3 separate regions of the Homo sapiens genome follow, and regions 1 and 3 are each linked to region 2. The links are contacts of gene promoters, found by promoter capture Hi-C in blood cells and fetal thymus (Javierre and others, 2016). All regions are on one chromosome and are shown on one strand. Each heading gives the region's core, a stretch centred on a gene start or on the middle of the fragment in contact. The rest is flanking DNA. Distances are from core to core; before and after follow the strand shown. Region 1 holds the start of LINC00974 (long intergenic non-protein coding RNA 974). Region 2 holds the start of KRTAP1-3 (keratin associated protein 1-3). Region 3 has its middle 9.5 kb from the start of KRT14.

Region 1 (4,788 bases), core at 1,533-4,032, 520 kb after region 2:
GGCAAGAGATGAAAGGAATCATGTTTGAGAGTTTGGCCTGAGTTCGGGTGAGGATGGCATGTCTCTGAGGCTGAGGGTGCTGGTAGCAGCAAAGACAGACTGAGGGATTCCCGGGTGGGAAGAAAGCTCAGGAATATCAAAGCCATCGGAGGACACATGAGTGTCACACCCAGCATGTGGGTGCAGAGCCGTCCTTAGGGACTGTCTGTCCTTGCAGGGTTATTCACCCAGGACCCCTCTGCACCCACACTCTGCTTCTGATACTCATGTGTTCTCCGACAGCTTTGATCTTCCTGGGGAGAGATCAAGGTAACTCTTGGAGAAAATTGAGGCCACAGCGCAATCTTAAAAAGTGTTAAAAATTGTTAGAGGCCAGATAGGTCGTGCTAAGAGCAGGAGGTAGGGAGCCAGATCAACACTGGTGTGGGTGACTTGGGCAAGGAACTTTTCTTCTCTGAGCCTCAGTTTCCTCATCTGTAAATGGAAGCAACAAGAGCAACCTCACACAGTTGTGAGAAATCAACAAAATGACATATGGAAGCTTCCTGGCCCATGCCTATCCTAGGAAGCTTCCCTAGCCACCATGGCCAGCTCAGGAGACCCCATCTGAAAGTACAGCCCATCCCTCTCATCACCGATGGCACTCACTCAGCACTGGCCTGTCTGCCTGTCTGCCTCTGGCACCAGACTGTGAGCCCATGGGGGCAGAGACCTTGTCTGTTCTGCTCACAATTCCATCTATTCCCAATCCCTGCCACAGAATAGGCACCCAGTGAAGATCTGTTGAATGAATGAATGAATGAATGAATGAATGAATGACTTGAAGAGGGGATGAAAATAGACAGGAACTCCAATACGAGATTTTCAAAAACAGGCAGGTGAGGACCCACCAGGCCTTACCTCTCCTCACGATCTTTTAACTTCTTGTCGTACTATTTCTCCTGGGTTTTATTTTGTTGTTGTTGCATCATTTCTTGAACTTTCTTTCTGGTTTCACAAGAATTCCCTCAGACAATCCCAGTGGATCTCAGTCTAGTAAGAGGAACAGAGAAAGGAACTGATTTTATTCCTGTTTGGGCCTGAGATGGGGAGTGCTTCAGAGCCTGAAGCCAAGAGGCTGCAGCAGCAGCAGCAGCCTCCACAACCAAGCAGGACACTCCAAGGGGCGGGGACTCGAGATCAAAGCTCTAGAGATTTGGGTAGATATTTGCGGACTGTTAGAATGATATGAATAATAATAGAGACCCTCCTCTGTCATCCTCCTCCCTGCACCGTTTGCTCATTCACCCATTCCTTCCTTTGACAAGCACAGACCCAGGGCCTTCTAGGGGGAATCTGAGATCCCAGGAAAGAATCTACCTGTGCCAGGTCACTCGTCTTATTCTCAGCTCTTCATACAGTCATTGCTTCCCACGTAAGCCTTTTTTCTTTCCTTTTTTTTTCTTTTCTTTTTCTTTTTTTTTTTTTAATTTAGAGACAGTCTCATTCTGTTGCCCTGGCTGGAGTACAGTGGTATGATCATGGTTCACAGCAGCCTCAAACTTCTGGGCTCAAGTGATCCTCCCACCTCAGCCTCCCAAGTAACCCAGTAATTAGGACAACAGGTGCATGCCACCATGCCTGTCCAATATTTTTTTCTTTTTTTGGTAGATGCGGGGTCTTGCTCTGTTGCCCAGGCTGATCTCAAATTTCTGGCTTCAAGTGATCCTCCTACCTCAGCCTCTCAAAGTGCTGGGAATACAGACATGAGCCGCCACACCCAGCCCACATAAGGTATTTTTGACAAGCCTCTGCTTATGGGATTTGCTAGCCTCTGTATTCTTTTGGGGCTCAATAATTGCTCAAGGCCATAGAGAACAGGAAACAGAGCACCAGCTTTGGAGCCAGGCCAAACTGGAATTATATCTTTGCTTGATCATTTACAAGCTATGTGACCTTGGACAAGTTACTTAACCTCTCTAACTTAGAATTTCCTCATCTATAAAATGGGCTTCATAATCCCAGTGTCCTTGGATCAGACTTCCTAGATTCAGTTCCTGTCTCCACTGCTTAGGAGCTGTGTGACCTTTTCAGCAAGTCATTTAATCTCGCTAAAAATGTTTCCTCATGTGTAAAATGAAAACAAGGACAGCATCATGAGATTGCTGTGAAGATTAGATACAGGGTTTATTCCCTTATCTTATATAAAATGCTTAGCGAAGTGCCTGGAACATTATTAAGTGCGCAATCAGTGTTAGTCCTTGCTCCTTCCTTGTGGACAATTGTTCTTACACTTAGTCGCCCAGCTCCTTTGTAAAGGAATTCTCCCTCTAGTGTCTGTGCCTCCTGGCTATAGAAGCCAGAAATTAGCCTTCCAGCCTCCCTTGCAGCTGGAGCACAGACACATGATCAGTCACACACATCACAGAAGCCTGTAAGCTGGGAGCTAATGTCCTAAAAAAGGAGGCACCTGGTGGAATCCATGCTGGAAGGAATAACTGCAGACCTCCAGTTTCTAGAAGCAGCAGCGCCACAAGTTTGGTGATAGCGCCAAGTGGAATGGGCTACTGAATCTGCACCTGCAGATAGTGGCAAGGGTGGGCTTGCTCCGGGCTGTGCTGCCTTCAAACCTGTTCCCTGCGAGTTCTTCCTGGAGAGTCTATGGCTTACCTAACATCCTTTAACAAACTGGCTTCAGAGTGTGGCTTCTGATCTTTGCAGGCAAAAACCCTGATGGCTACAGAATTTAGTAACAAGTGTGATTACTGGCATGAGACTTCTAAAAGATCTCCGTTTGGGTGTCCAAAAGACAATGTAAATTTAGCATGTCTGAAACTGACTCCCCATCTTTCATACCAGCCAACTTCCATCCCACAACTCCTATCATCCAGTTGCTCAGACAAAAGACTCAGAGACCTCCTTGACTTCTTTCTTTTACAATATGCAGTCCTTCAAGAACTCCTGGCAGTGCTTTCTTCAGATGATGCTCAGAATCCAGCCACCTCTGACCGTCTTCACTCTGAGTGCCAGGGGCTCTTCACCTCCCTGCACACTGGGCTCTCTGTTTCTGCTCCTAGCCTCGCAGCCTCTCATCAAGTGGCCTGTCACTCCTCTGCTCAAGGCACTGTGTGTTAGGATGATCATCAGCACTAGCTGCTGTGCCTGGAGTGGTCCCCACACACGCTTGACTGCCTCCCTCACTCCGTCAAGTTGATACAGAAGGGCTGGGCTCCTGGCTAAACCCTACCCTTAAGCCTGGAACCTCGGCCCTAAAGGACCCCATTTTCCCCAAAAATGTTACCTTTTTGGCCTGCCTGCCCACATGCTGTGCCCATAAAAGACTTCAGCTGGCAGAGCAACACAAGCGGCTGAGCACTGAGGATATAAGCAGCTGAGCGGCGAGCAGAAAAGCAACTGAGCATCGGAGACTGTGGATAGATCTGGCTAACTTCAGATGGTGCAGCTTTGGAGAGGGGCCCTGCCGGAGACGGTGGGGCTTCAGGGAAAGATCACCATCCCATCACCTTTCCATCCTCCCTTTCCACTGAGAGCCACCCAACACCCAGTAAAGTATTTTGCATTCGTCACCTTTCAAACAGTTTATGTGACCTGATTCTTCTTCCTGGACGCCAGACAAGAACCTGGGTGCCAAGAAGGCAGGGGCTGCCACCCTGAACCTCCATTGAACTGGTTGGTATTTGGCCATCCCCTGACAGCACAGCTGAAAGAATAGGGACGCTGCTGCAGGGCCCGAACAGAGCCTGCTCCTGCCAGAGAGGAGCAACCGGCTGGTTCCAGCGTTCATTTGCTCCGGTTCCCACACTTGCTCACACACTCACTCCCACAAGGAGTGGCCAGCAACAGGCTGAGTGAAACAAAGTGCTCCTTAGCTGGGCGTGATGGTGTGTGCCTGTAATCCCAACATAAGAAACCCCATCTCTACTAAAAATACAAAATTAGACGGGCTTGGTGGCCCGTGCCTGTAATCCCAGCGACTCGGGAGGCTGAGGCAGGAGAATCACTTGAACCCGGGAGACGGAGGTTGCAGTGACCTGAAATCTCACCACTGCACTCCAGCCTGGGCAACAGGGCGAGACTCAGTCTCAAAAAAAAACAAAACAAAAACAAAAAACAAAGTGCTCCAGTTCCCGCCCATGAAGGGCGTCAGGGCAACTATTCCATCGCAAAGTCATTGCTTATGTTTTACCTTCTCAGTGAACCCAACCTTGGCCATCCTATTTAACATTGCTCTCCTCCCCACCCTGCCATAGCACTCCAATCTCCCTTGATATTCCCTACTTCTTTGCGCACTTACCACCTTCAAGTATAGTATTATTTATTTCTTTATTACATTTGTTGCTCTTGCCCAACCCTTACCTATAATGCAAGCTCTATAGAGGCAGAAATCTTTGTCTCTTTTGTTCATTGATATATCCCAAGCACCTAGGACAGTGCCTGGCATAAAAGGAGCTTGATACATATTTATCCAGTGAAGTTTGTTGAATGAATGACATGAGAATCACTTTGGTTATCTGGCCTAGATGGGCCAGTGAAAATCTGGCTATGATTAAAATGAGCTTCTAGAAGCCCACAGCATGTGAATTAAATTGGAGTGGGCTTGTTTCTTTTAACTGTACTGAAGAGCTTAGAGAAGGAGTAATACACTTGAAGTTCTAAGTTCCTGATTCTGTAGACAGTCAGAGGACCAGGGACTGTCCACAATTATTCTTTAAAAATATCTCATTTCTTGTAGCTACAATGCTGAAGTAGTTAATAAACTCAAAATTGACTTCTCCAAGTTGAAATCAC
Region 2 (4,628 bases), core at 1,136-3,635:
ATTTTGTGTTTTCACTACAAAAAAACTTATGTGAGGTAATGCATATGTTAATTAGTTTGATTTAGCCATTGTACGAAGTATACATATTCCAAAAAAATGTGTTGTACACAATAAATACATATAATTTTTGTCAATTCAAATAAATAAATAAATGAACTCATTTAACCATATGTGTATTTGAGGGTTTATTTCTAGGCTCTCTGTTCTTTTCCATTGCTTTATATATCTGTCTTTATATCAGTATCACACTGTTATGATTACTGTAGCTTTACAGTAAATTTTGAAACAGGAAAATGTGAGACCAACTTTGTTCTTTTTTAAGATTGTTTTGGCTATATAGGACCCCTTCTAATTTCATATGTATTTTAGGATGGATTTTTTTAAAATTTCTGCAAAAACATCATTGGGATTTTTATAGGGATTGCGTTAAATCTGTAGATTCTCTGGGTAGTATTGACATCTTAACAATATTAAATCCTATAATCCATGATCTCAGGATGTCTTTTCATTTATTTGTGTCTTCTTTAATTTCTTTCAGTAACATTTTGTAGTTTCTGGTGTACGAGTCTTTCCCCTCCAAGGCTAAGTTTGTTCCTAAGTATTTTATTCTTTATTTTATTATTATTATTATTATTTGAAATGGAGTCTCACTCTGTCACCCAGGCTGGAGTGAAGTGGCACAATCTTGGCTCACTGTAACCTCCACCTCCTGGGTTCAAGCAATTCTCATGCCTCAGCCTCCCCAGTAGCTGGGACCACAGGCATCCACGAACATGCCTGGCTAATTTTTGTATTTTTAGTAGAGACAGGGTTTCACTATATTGGCCAGGCTGGACTTGAGCTCCTAACCTCAGGTGATCTGCCCACCTCAGCTTACCAAAGTGCTGGGATTACAGGCATGAGCCACCATGCCCGGCCATAAGTATTTTATTCTTTTGATGGAATTGTTTTTAAAATTTTCCTTACAGATTTTTCATGGTTAGTATATAGAAATGCAATTTATTTTTTTTAGTAGAGATGGGGTTTCACCATGTTGGCCAAGCTGATCTCAAACTCCCGACCTCGTGATCTGTCTACCTTGGCCTCCCAAAATGCTGGGATTACAGGTGTGAGCCACCGTACCCAGCCAGAGATTTTGATTTCTGTAACTTCCTGGTTGTGAAAGCACTGTGTAAGGTTAAGTTATGGTAACAGAGCCTTTGCCATTTCTGAGGCCCTAAATAACTACACTTACTCTATGTTTTTATGGTCATTAACCTCCACTGGACCTCTGGATAACAAATTTCCTAATGTGGTATTAGAAGAGAAGGGATATCAAAAGCAGATTAAAGTTTTTCATATGACATTCTATGAAATATACATCCTGAGTACACTCAATGAAAAAAAAAAGATATGTTTGTTGCACCAATAGTTAAAATTTATTAGACCTTGGTATATTATTCCTCTTTCATAGGGGGTGCAATTTGCAGGACGGTGGGATACAGGAAGTGAGTGTCCTGAGAAGGACAGATGGCTCTTCCATGGTCTCGTCGGCGCTGAGACTCAGAGCGTGGGCTTCAATGCTTGCAAAGGCTCAGTTTCAAGGTAAATCGGCTTTTTCATTTCTTGGGTCAAATTTGTATTTTGGCGTCCTCAGAGAGAAGAGTAAGGTCTTTCTGGAATTGAAAGGAATCAGATAATTCTGAGGCCAAAATATTTGGTAACCCCCATAAGAAAGACAAAGAAAGGTTGAAGAATTTGTTCGTTGTCCATAAGTGCTTGAAGAAATAATTCGTTCATGAATGGAACTGAAAGTGGAAATTTCAAGTTGAAAATCAGCAAACTGGCTTTTAGCAGGTGGGCTCACAGGAGTAGCAGCAGCAGACTGGGCGGCAGCAGGACTGTCCACAGTAGGATGGGCGGCAGCAGGAGGCCTCGGCGTGGTGCAGCTGGCAGCAGGTTGGGGGTGTGCAGCTCACCACACAGCAGGGGGGCAGGCAGGTACCCTCCACACGGCAGTCTGGGCGGCACCACCTGATACGGGTGCTCACAGCTCCACTGCTGCCCTCCTGGCCATAGCCAATGCCACCACCAATGCCACAGCCAGTTCCGCAGGAGCTGGTCTGGCAGCAGCTTGGCTGGCAGCAGCTGGTCTCACAGCAGCTTGGCTGGCAGCAACTGGAGCTGCAGGTCCCACTAGTTGAGAAGCTAGGAAATCCGCAGAAGCTGGTCTGGCAGCAGCTTGGCTGGCAGCAGCTGGTCTCACAGCAGCTTGGCTGGCAGCAGCTGGAGCCGCATGTCCCACTGGTGGAGCAGCTGGGATATCCACAGAAGCTGGTCTGGCAGCAGGTCATGGTGTTGGGAGCTGGTATGAAGTCTGGGTTGCTTGGAGGAGTTTCTGAGTTTTGGTGATGGCTGCCACATTGGGCCTTTTATAAGCCTGGGCCAGCTACTGTTTACATAATTCCAGAAGTCTCTTGCTTATTTGTGTTGGATAATTTGTCTCTGAATGATAATTGGCCTCTCCCTGAATTATTTGTTGAACCTACTGAGAGCCTTTGAAAGTTGATTGTATTTGGTCTGCAATTAGGCTTCTTTACCATGGTCAAGAAGTCATTGGCATTAATTAGGAATATGATCCCTAACTCCTCATGTTTCTTAAAATTTCCTCATGGTCAAGGAATAATTGACTGATGCCTCACCTTTAAGGATTGTCAATATTACTCAGTGTTGACCCTTACAACTGGGTGATTGGGTCTCACATGACAGTTTAATTCCCTCCAATTTTAACTGTGGCTCCTTCTCTAACTTTCTTATCTTCCCTTTGACTGTGAAGCAAGACTATATTCAGCTGGCCAGAAAGGGATGCTTTCTTGGGCCTGGGAGATTTGCATTAATTGCTATTGATAACATTTTCCCATCACTGATTATGTGCCTAAATAGTTCTGAGTACTTCGCATGTATCAATTTGCTGAATTTTCACGGCAATCTATGGGCTAGGTATCACTGCCACTCCCATCAACCATGTGAGAAAACTGAGCCACAACAGGTTGAAGTAACTTACCCTAGTTCACACTAGTATCTAGTGAATCTGAAATTTGAATCCACAACCTCTGATTCCAGACTAAACTCTTTAAACACTATAGTCAATTCTTTCTCTCTTTCTCTCTGTCTTTCTCCCTTCCTTCCTTCCTTCCCTCCTTTCTTCTTTCTTTCTTTCTTTCTTTCTTTCTTTCTTTCTTTCTTTCTTTCCTTCTTTCTCTTTCTTTCTTTCTTTCCTTTCTTTCTTTCTTTCCTTCCTTCCTTCCTTCCTTCCTTCCTTCCTTCCTTCCTTTCTTTCTTTCTTTCTTTCTTTCTTTCTTTCTTTCTTTCTTTTTCTTCTTTCTCCTTTCTTTCTTTCCTTTCTTCTTTTTTTATGTAAAAAGTCATTCTAAGGAAATTCCAATGGTGAAAGCAAGCCGTAAAAATTTGCTTCCTTTCTTACGGACTTTTTTGAGAGTAAAAGGAAGGAAGGGAGAGCTTAGGGTAAGTAATAACACAGTTTACTACAGCCATTCCTAGAGATTTTATTTATTTATTAACAGCATAATAAGCACAGTTCAAGAAAATCTTAAGTGCTAAAAAAGTTAACCTTCTTGTGACTTTGTCTCATCTTTTATCTTAGGATATTCTATAGATTTAGATTTTTTAACTGCATAAAATTATAGTTTTTAACATATTAATACTGGAGTATGTGATTTACTACAGAGTGTTAGATCGGCTGTATGCAGTTTATTATAGATATTAGAGACTAATCCAGTGAACTGGAAAGTTTATATAATTTGAATGAGACAGCTGATGACGGTGAATATAAAGGTTTTGTTTAGATGCAATAAAAGGTGACCAGGCCTCCATGGAGTATGGGTTCATTACTGAGAAATGCAAGTTACGATGCTACTCTTGGATTTTGAACCAGAACACCAAGTGGTAGTTCTGCTTCTCTAGAAATGACAGCTTTGAGTTTACATCATAACTCTTTCTGAGTCAGAATTAAGACATATTTTCAAATCCCACATCAAATTTGGTTTAAAAGATATGATTCTTTGTGAATTCCTTGCTTCTTCTTAAGCAAAGCTACATCACAGATTCTTTGATTAGCTAATATTTTTTATGTTGGATGCTTGAAATACGTGGGTGTGTCATGACAACAATCTCGGGAGCTATTTAATTCAGATCTAAATTTAGCAGAATCTTTGATACTAAACAGATGTATCTCCTTTTGCAAAAGGCTCAGATATCTGAGGACCTGAAATACATTATTGATAAGAGCACTGGAGACAGTGGCGTTGCATATCAGTTCTCCCTTTCTGGGCTTTTCTACTGTGGCACTATTTTCAACATCTTCCTCAATGCAAAATTTAAGGTATGACACTTACTTGAGAATTTGACTCCTGTGCCACAGAACGAAGACTAATCTGAACATTCCCTTACCTCCTCTAAGTAAATTAAGAAAATGAAATTTATTTTATTTCACTTTACATTATATCCTTCAAGTTTAGGTATGTTGTAATATGTGACCGAATTTCCTGCTTTTTATAGACTCAATAGTATTCCGTTGTGTGTATATACCACATTTCTTATTACTGTGCTGATTCCCTCTGGCATTCATT
Region 3 (4,797 bases), core at 1,622-4,121, 560 kb after region 2:
CTAGAAAGCCCCCAAAAGTCAGAGCCAAAAACAGCCTCTAGACCAGGCTCTTAACTTTACAGATAGAAAATGTGAGTCCCAGACAGGGGAAGGAACATGTCCAAGGTCACACAGCAGAAGTGTCACCCAGGGTTCTGAGCTAGGCAGGGTAAGAATATGCCTGGGGTGAAAAGGGCTGTGCCTGCACCCCAGAGTCATGTTCAGGTTGTTAAAAATGCAGACAGTCAGGTGGCCAAAGGCAAGGAATAGATTAGTTTACAACCCTGCCGCTAGCTCCCAGTTCAGGCAAAATGCAGCTTAAATGCTCCAGCCCATCACTCATGAGACCCCACTGTAAACTGGGTCCCCTCCCCAACAGGCCTGTCCCCTTGCTGGTCCCTACATCTCCATCCATTTCCAATCTCTGCCTGAATTTCCACATATGTCCTCTCTTCCTACCCAAACCCCTCATGTTCTTTAAGGCCAAGCCTCAGTTCCACATATGGTTTATGCAGATTCCTGCAGACTGTGTGGCACAAAGTAGGTGCTCAATGAAGGAAGGAAGCACAGAGGGAGGGAGGATGGAGAGTAAGAGGAGGGAGGACAGAAGGAGGACAGAGGGAGGGAGGAGGGAGAGCAGGAGGAAGGGAAAGGGAAGAGGGTAAGGGAATGTAGAAGAGGGATGGATGGATGGATGGATGGATGGACATATAGACGGATGGATGGATGGATGGATGGCAGGTGGACAGATGGATAGATGAGTGGAAGGAAGAGAAGAACGAGGGAAAGTGGAGGGATGAACGGCTGGGGAGTGATCAGACAGGGAAGTAGATGAATGGATGAATGGAAGGAAGGGAATAATAATGGGTAAAAGGATAGAGGGATGAACAGGAGGTGGGTGGATGGTGGGTAGGCAGGTGGGTGAAGGATGGTGGGGCACTGAGAAAGGACAGCCAGCCCAGCTGGGGGCAGAGGGGGCCAGCATCCTAGAGGAGCTCTTAACTGATCTGAACCTTGAAGATGAGTAGATGCTGAGCAAGCAGCGGAAGTGAGGATAGACATCCCATTTGCCCAAGGAAGCACCCAGGCAAAGTGCAGACGTGTGAAAGACTGGTCTGATGGAAACTGCAAGCAGTTATGTATTGTTAGAGTTCACAGCTCAAGGCTGGGCCTGCCCGATGAAACTGAGAGCCTTAGGCCAGGTGGTGATAAAGGTGCTGGGAAGCTCAGACTTTATCCTGATGACACTGGAGCCACTGAAGGGTCCTAAGCTGGTGAGTGATGCTGTCGGATGTTTCACAAAGGCCACCCTGGTCTCCATGCAGAACATACTTTGCCGTGGTGTGGGGGACCAGTAGGGAGAATTTGCCATATCCAGGTAAGGGATGTTGTTGGCTCAGACCTCTCCTCTCCCAGGAAGCCCCACCCCATCAGCTCAGGTCACCTGGCTTTCTCCCCATCTCTCAGACCTCCCACTGCCTCTGTGATCTGTGCCCCCACCCTTGATTATACCTCCCCATAGTGCCTTAGGGGGCCACAAAGTGTTTTTCACATAGTCAGTCCTCAGTGTTACTCTGGTCTGATGCAGGAGACACAACCCTTGCCCGTGGGCTGTCCAGTCTGATGGAGGAGGGTTGCAGAGCCCAGAGTTTTCCCTGTGCCATAGGCTGAGGGGAGCCAGGAGCACAGGAGCCACAAGGTGGGGTGGATTAGCACACAGAAGTTTTCTTGGAAAGGGTGCGCTTTGACTCAGGTTTTGAAAGAAGGAAGAACCCTGGAGGGTGGAGTGGGGAGAGGGCGTGGCTGTGGGAACTCCAGCACAGTGGTGAGTTGCGGGGAGAGTCAGCACCTGGGAGTCGGAATGTCTGTGTCAGGAGTCCTGAGCTCTGGTCGGCAGGACAGAGGGAAAGGGAAAGAGGAAGGGAAGGGGTCGCCGAGTAGTTCTAGCCTCATGGATAGAAAGAGTCATTTCCCACAGTCAGAGATGTGGGAACAGATTCAGCATCTTGCACCCCACCTCCCTCCCCCAGACGGGATACCGCATGGGATCAAGGAAGGAGCAGGGCCTCCCGATCAGAAAGACCAGCTTTCAAGTCTTGGCTCCATCACTGACGAGCCATGTGACCTTGGACAGGCCATTGCAGCCGTCCAAGCTTTGGTTTTCCATCAAATAGGAATAGAACCAGTTCAGCCTGGCAGGATTATTGAGAGGAGTGGGTAAGTCAGCGCAGGTGGCCAGCATGGTACTGGGCACAGAGGAAGTGTTTGGTAAAAGTTCACTTAAATTAAGCCCAAGTTAGACCAAAGGGAGTGGGGGATGCAAATGGAGAACAGGTGTCAAGGTTCAGCCAAAGACCTTGAGGCAGAGAACAGAGAAGAGTCCAGGATGTTACTGGAGCTCCTGTTGCAGGAGCTGGGAGCTGCTGAGGTCAGCCGGCCAGGTGATGGGCTGGTGAGTCTGCAAGGGCCTGGCCAGGGTGGAGGCTGTGGGAATAGGGCAGGCCTGGAAACTGATGAGGAAGAGTCAGCGGATGGTTTAGGTGTGAGGGGAGAAGGCCTGGGAGCTTCCAGCAGGGCCCACATTCTGTGGCTGGAATGAGGGGATGGGGAAGCAGCCTCTCAGGTTTCAATGAGGCCATCCTGGTTGTCAGTGCAATATTTGCAAAAAAATGACCATTTCTGTCTCCCAGTTCCAAAAGAGGGCATGGATGGCTTATGATAAAAGACATATTTATAATAAAACTAAAAATATCCAGCAAGGATAGAAGAAAAATAAATCAAGAATTAGGTAACAGGATATATTGATGGGCACATTTTGGTTGCAAGCAACGGAAACTCAGCTTGAATTAGCTTCTAAAAGAGGCAATTCAGGGCTGGGCATGGTGGCTCACACCTGTAATTCCAGCGCTTTGGGAGGCTGAGATAGGAGGATCACTTGAGCCCAGGAGTTCAAGACAAGCCTGGGCAACATAGTGAGATACCATCTCTACAAAAATAAATAAATAAAATAATTAGCCAGGCATGGAGGCATACACCAGTAGTCCCAGCAACTCAGAAGACTGAGGTGGAAGGATTGCTTAAGCCCCAGCAGGTCAAGGCTGCAGTGAGCCATGACCACAGCACTGCACTCCAGCCTGGGTGGCAAAGTGAGACTCCATCTTAAAAAAAAAAAAAAAAAGACAATCAATAAAACAATAAATCAAGCCCCAATTTATAACATTTATTTTTTTCGTGTTGTAAATACCCCCACTGTGGCCAATTTCAAGCAACCAACAGGGAGTCACTTAACACAGGGTTGGGAAGAGACGTGCAGTAGCTCACTGCCTTATAGCATGTCCACCATATGGATAAAATGGTCATAAGTACCTCAAGAGCACAGATATTAGTACAATGTAGTAAAATAATTTGGAAGGAATGAGTTTTCAGTATGCATTACCTTTGTTCTCAATATAATTCATTTAATTTTAAGTTCGTATAATTTAATTTTTGATGAGGGCCATATTTAACAATCACCTTGCAAAATTCCTGAAATTTTAATGTCCAGCTCTCAAGAGCCAGCATGAGCCAGCTCCAGCGTGCCAATGAGCCTCGAGGTTTAGGCCATAAGCAAGAGACTAGGAGGGACAAAGGGAAAGCTTCTGGATAAAACAAAGTGAAAGAGGGAAAACCAGATTGGGGGAGGATATTGGTGAGGGAAGGGGAAGAAGAGTTGGTGGGCCCCCACGGTCAGGGAGACAGCCTAGGTGGACAGGAGCAGAGGCAGCATCCAGAGGCTGTGCAGCCTTCACAAGGCAGACCAGGCACTGTCTGCCTCCCAGGGAGCCACATGGGAGCCCCATGGGGGTATCCAAGTCTGTGCTGCCTCGTTATCTCAATTATCTCATCAGTGTTCTGTTGGTTGTTCTCTCTGTCAGCATCTAGCGAGGACTGTTCTACTGCAGCACTCAGTGTGCATCTGTCCTTTGACTGTCCCAGCTTGAGTGATGTCTGTGTGTCCCAAGACTTTGGTTACTCCCCATCTAACTTAACCCATATGAGCAACACCCCCTTCAAAGAACTGGAGGAGTGATTGGGGGAAAGGAAATGATGGTGCTGGGGGTGTTGGAGGTACTGGAGGTAGTGGTGGTGGTGGTGGTGGTGGTGGTGATGGAGATGGAGATGGTGGTAATGATGGTGGTGATTGTGGTGGTCATGGTGGTGATGGTGGTAGTGGTAATGGTGGTGATGATGTGGTGGTGGTAGTGGGGGTGGGGGTGGTGATGGTGGTAATGATGGCAGTGATTATGGTGGTGATGGCAGTGATGGTGGTAGTGGTGATGGTGGTGGTGATGGTGGTGGTGGTGGTAGTGGTGGTGGGGGTGGTGATTTCAGTGGTGGTGGTGGTGGTGGTAGTGGTGGTGGGGGTGGTGATTTCAGTGGTGGTGGTGGTGGTGGTGCAGGGGCGAGTGGTGATGGTGGGGGTGATGGTGGTGGGGCGTATTGGTGTGGTGCTGGTGATTGTGGTGGTGATGGTAGGGATGGTGGTAGTGGTGATGGTAGTGATGGTGGTGGTGGGGCTGTGGGGGTGGTGATGGTGGGGATGATGGTGGTGGGGGTATTGGTGTGGTGCTGGTGATTGTGGTGGTGATGGTAAGGATAGTGGTAGTGATAATGTTGGTGATGGTGGTGGGGAGGTGGTGATTTCGGTGGTGGGGGTGTTGGTGGTGGTGGTGGTGATGGTAGTAGTGTTAATGGTGGGGGTGATGGTGGTGGGGGGTATTGGTGTGGTGCTGGTGATTGTGGTGGTGATGGTAGGGATAGTGGTAGTGGTAATGGTGG

The links. Contacts are between HindIII fragments. The CHiCAGO score rates a contact against its expected background, and 5 or more counts as called.
Region 1: a fragment that was not itself captured here is called in contact with the fragment with the promoter of KRTAP1-3 in region 2 in 5 of 17 cell types (activated CD4 T cells, naive CD8 T cells, non-activated CD4 T cells and 2 more); the score reaches 8.3 in activated CD4 T cells.
Region 3: a contact is called between a fragment that was not itself captured here and the fragment with the promoter of KRTAP1-3 in region 2, in 7 of 17 cell types (naive CD8 T cells, total CD4 T cells, non-activated CD4 T cells and 4 more). The highest score is 11.1, in naive CD8 T cells.

What each region holds. Positions count from the first base shown.
Region 1 is chr17:41,553,380-41,558,167 of GRCh38, forward strand. LINC00974 (long intergenic non-protein coding RNA 974) reads right to left here and starts at 1,116. Exons shown (of 3, transcript NR_038442.1): 1 at 901-1,116. The HindIII fragment of the contact is 4,431 bases long and covers 568-4,788 here.
Region 2 is chr17:41,032,489-41,037,116 of GRCh38, forward strand. KRTAP1-3 (keratin associated protein 1-3) reads right to left here and starts at 2,386. Exons shown (of 1, transcript NM_030966.2): 1 at 1,396-2,386. The coding sequence starts at 2,333. The coding sequence ends at 1,830. The HindIII fragment of the contact is 12,344 bases long and covers 1-4,628 here.
Region 3 is chr17:41,594,008-41,598,804 of GRCh38, forward strand. No RefSeq gene overlaps it. Among named protein-coding and RNA genes, the nearest start is that of KRT14, 9.5 kb to the left of the region's middle. The HindIII fragment of the contact is 1,482 bases long and covers 2,131-3,612 here.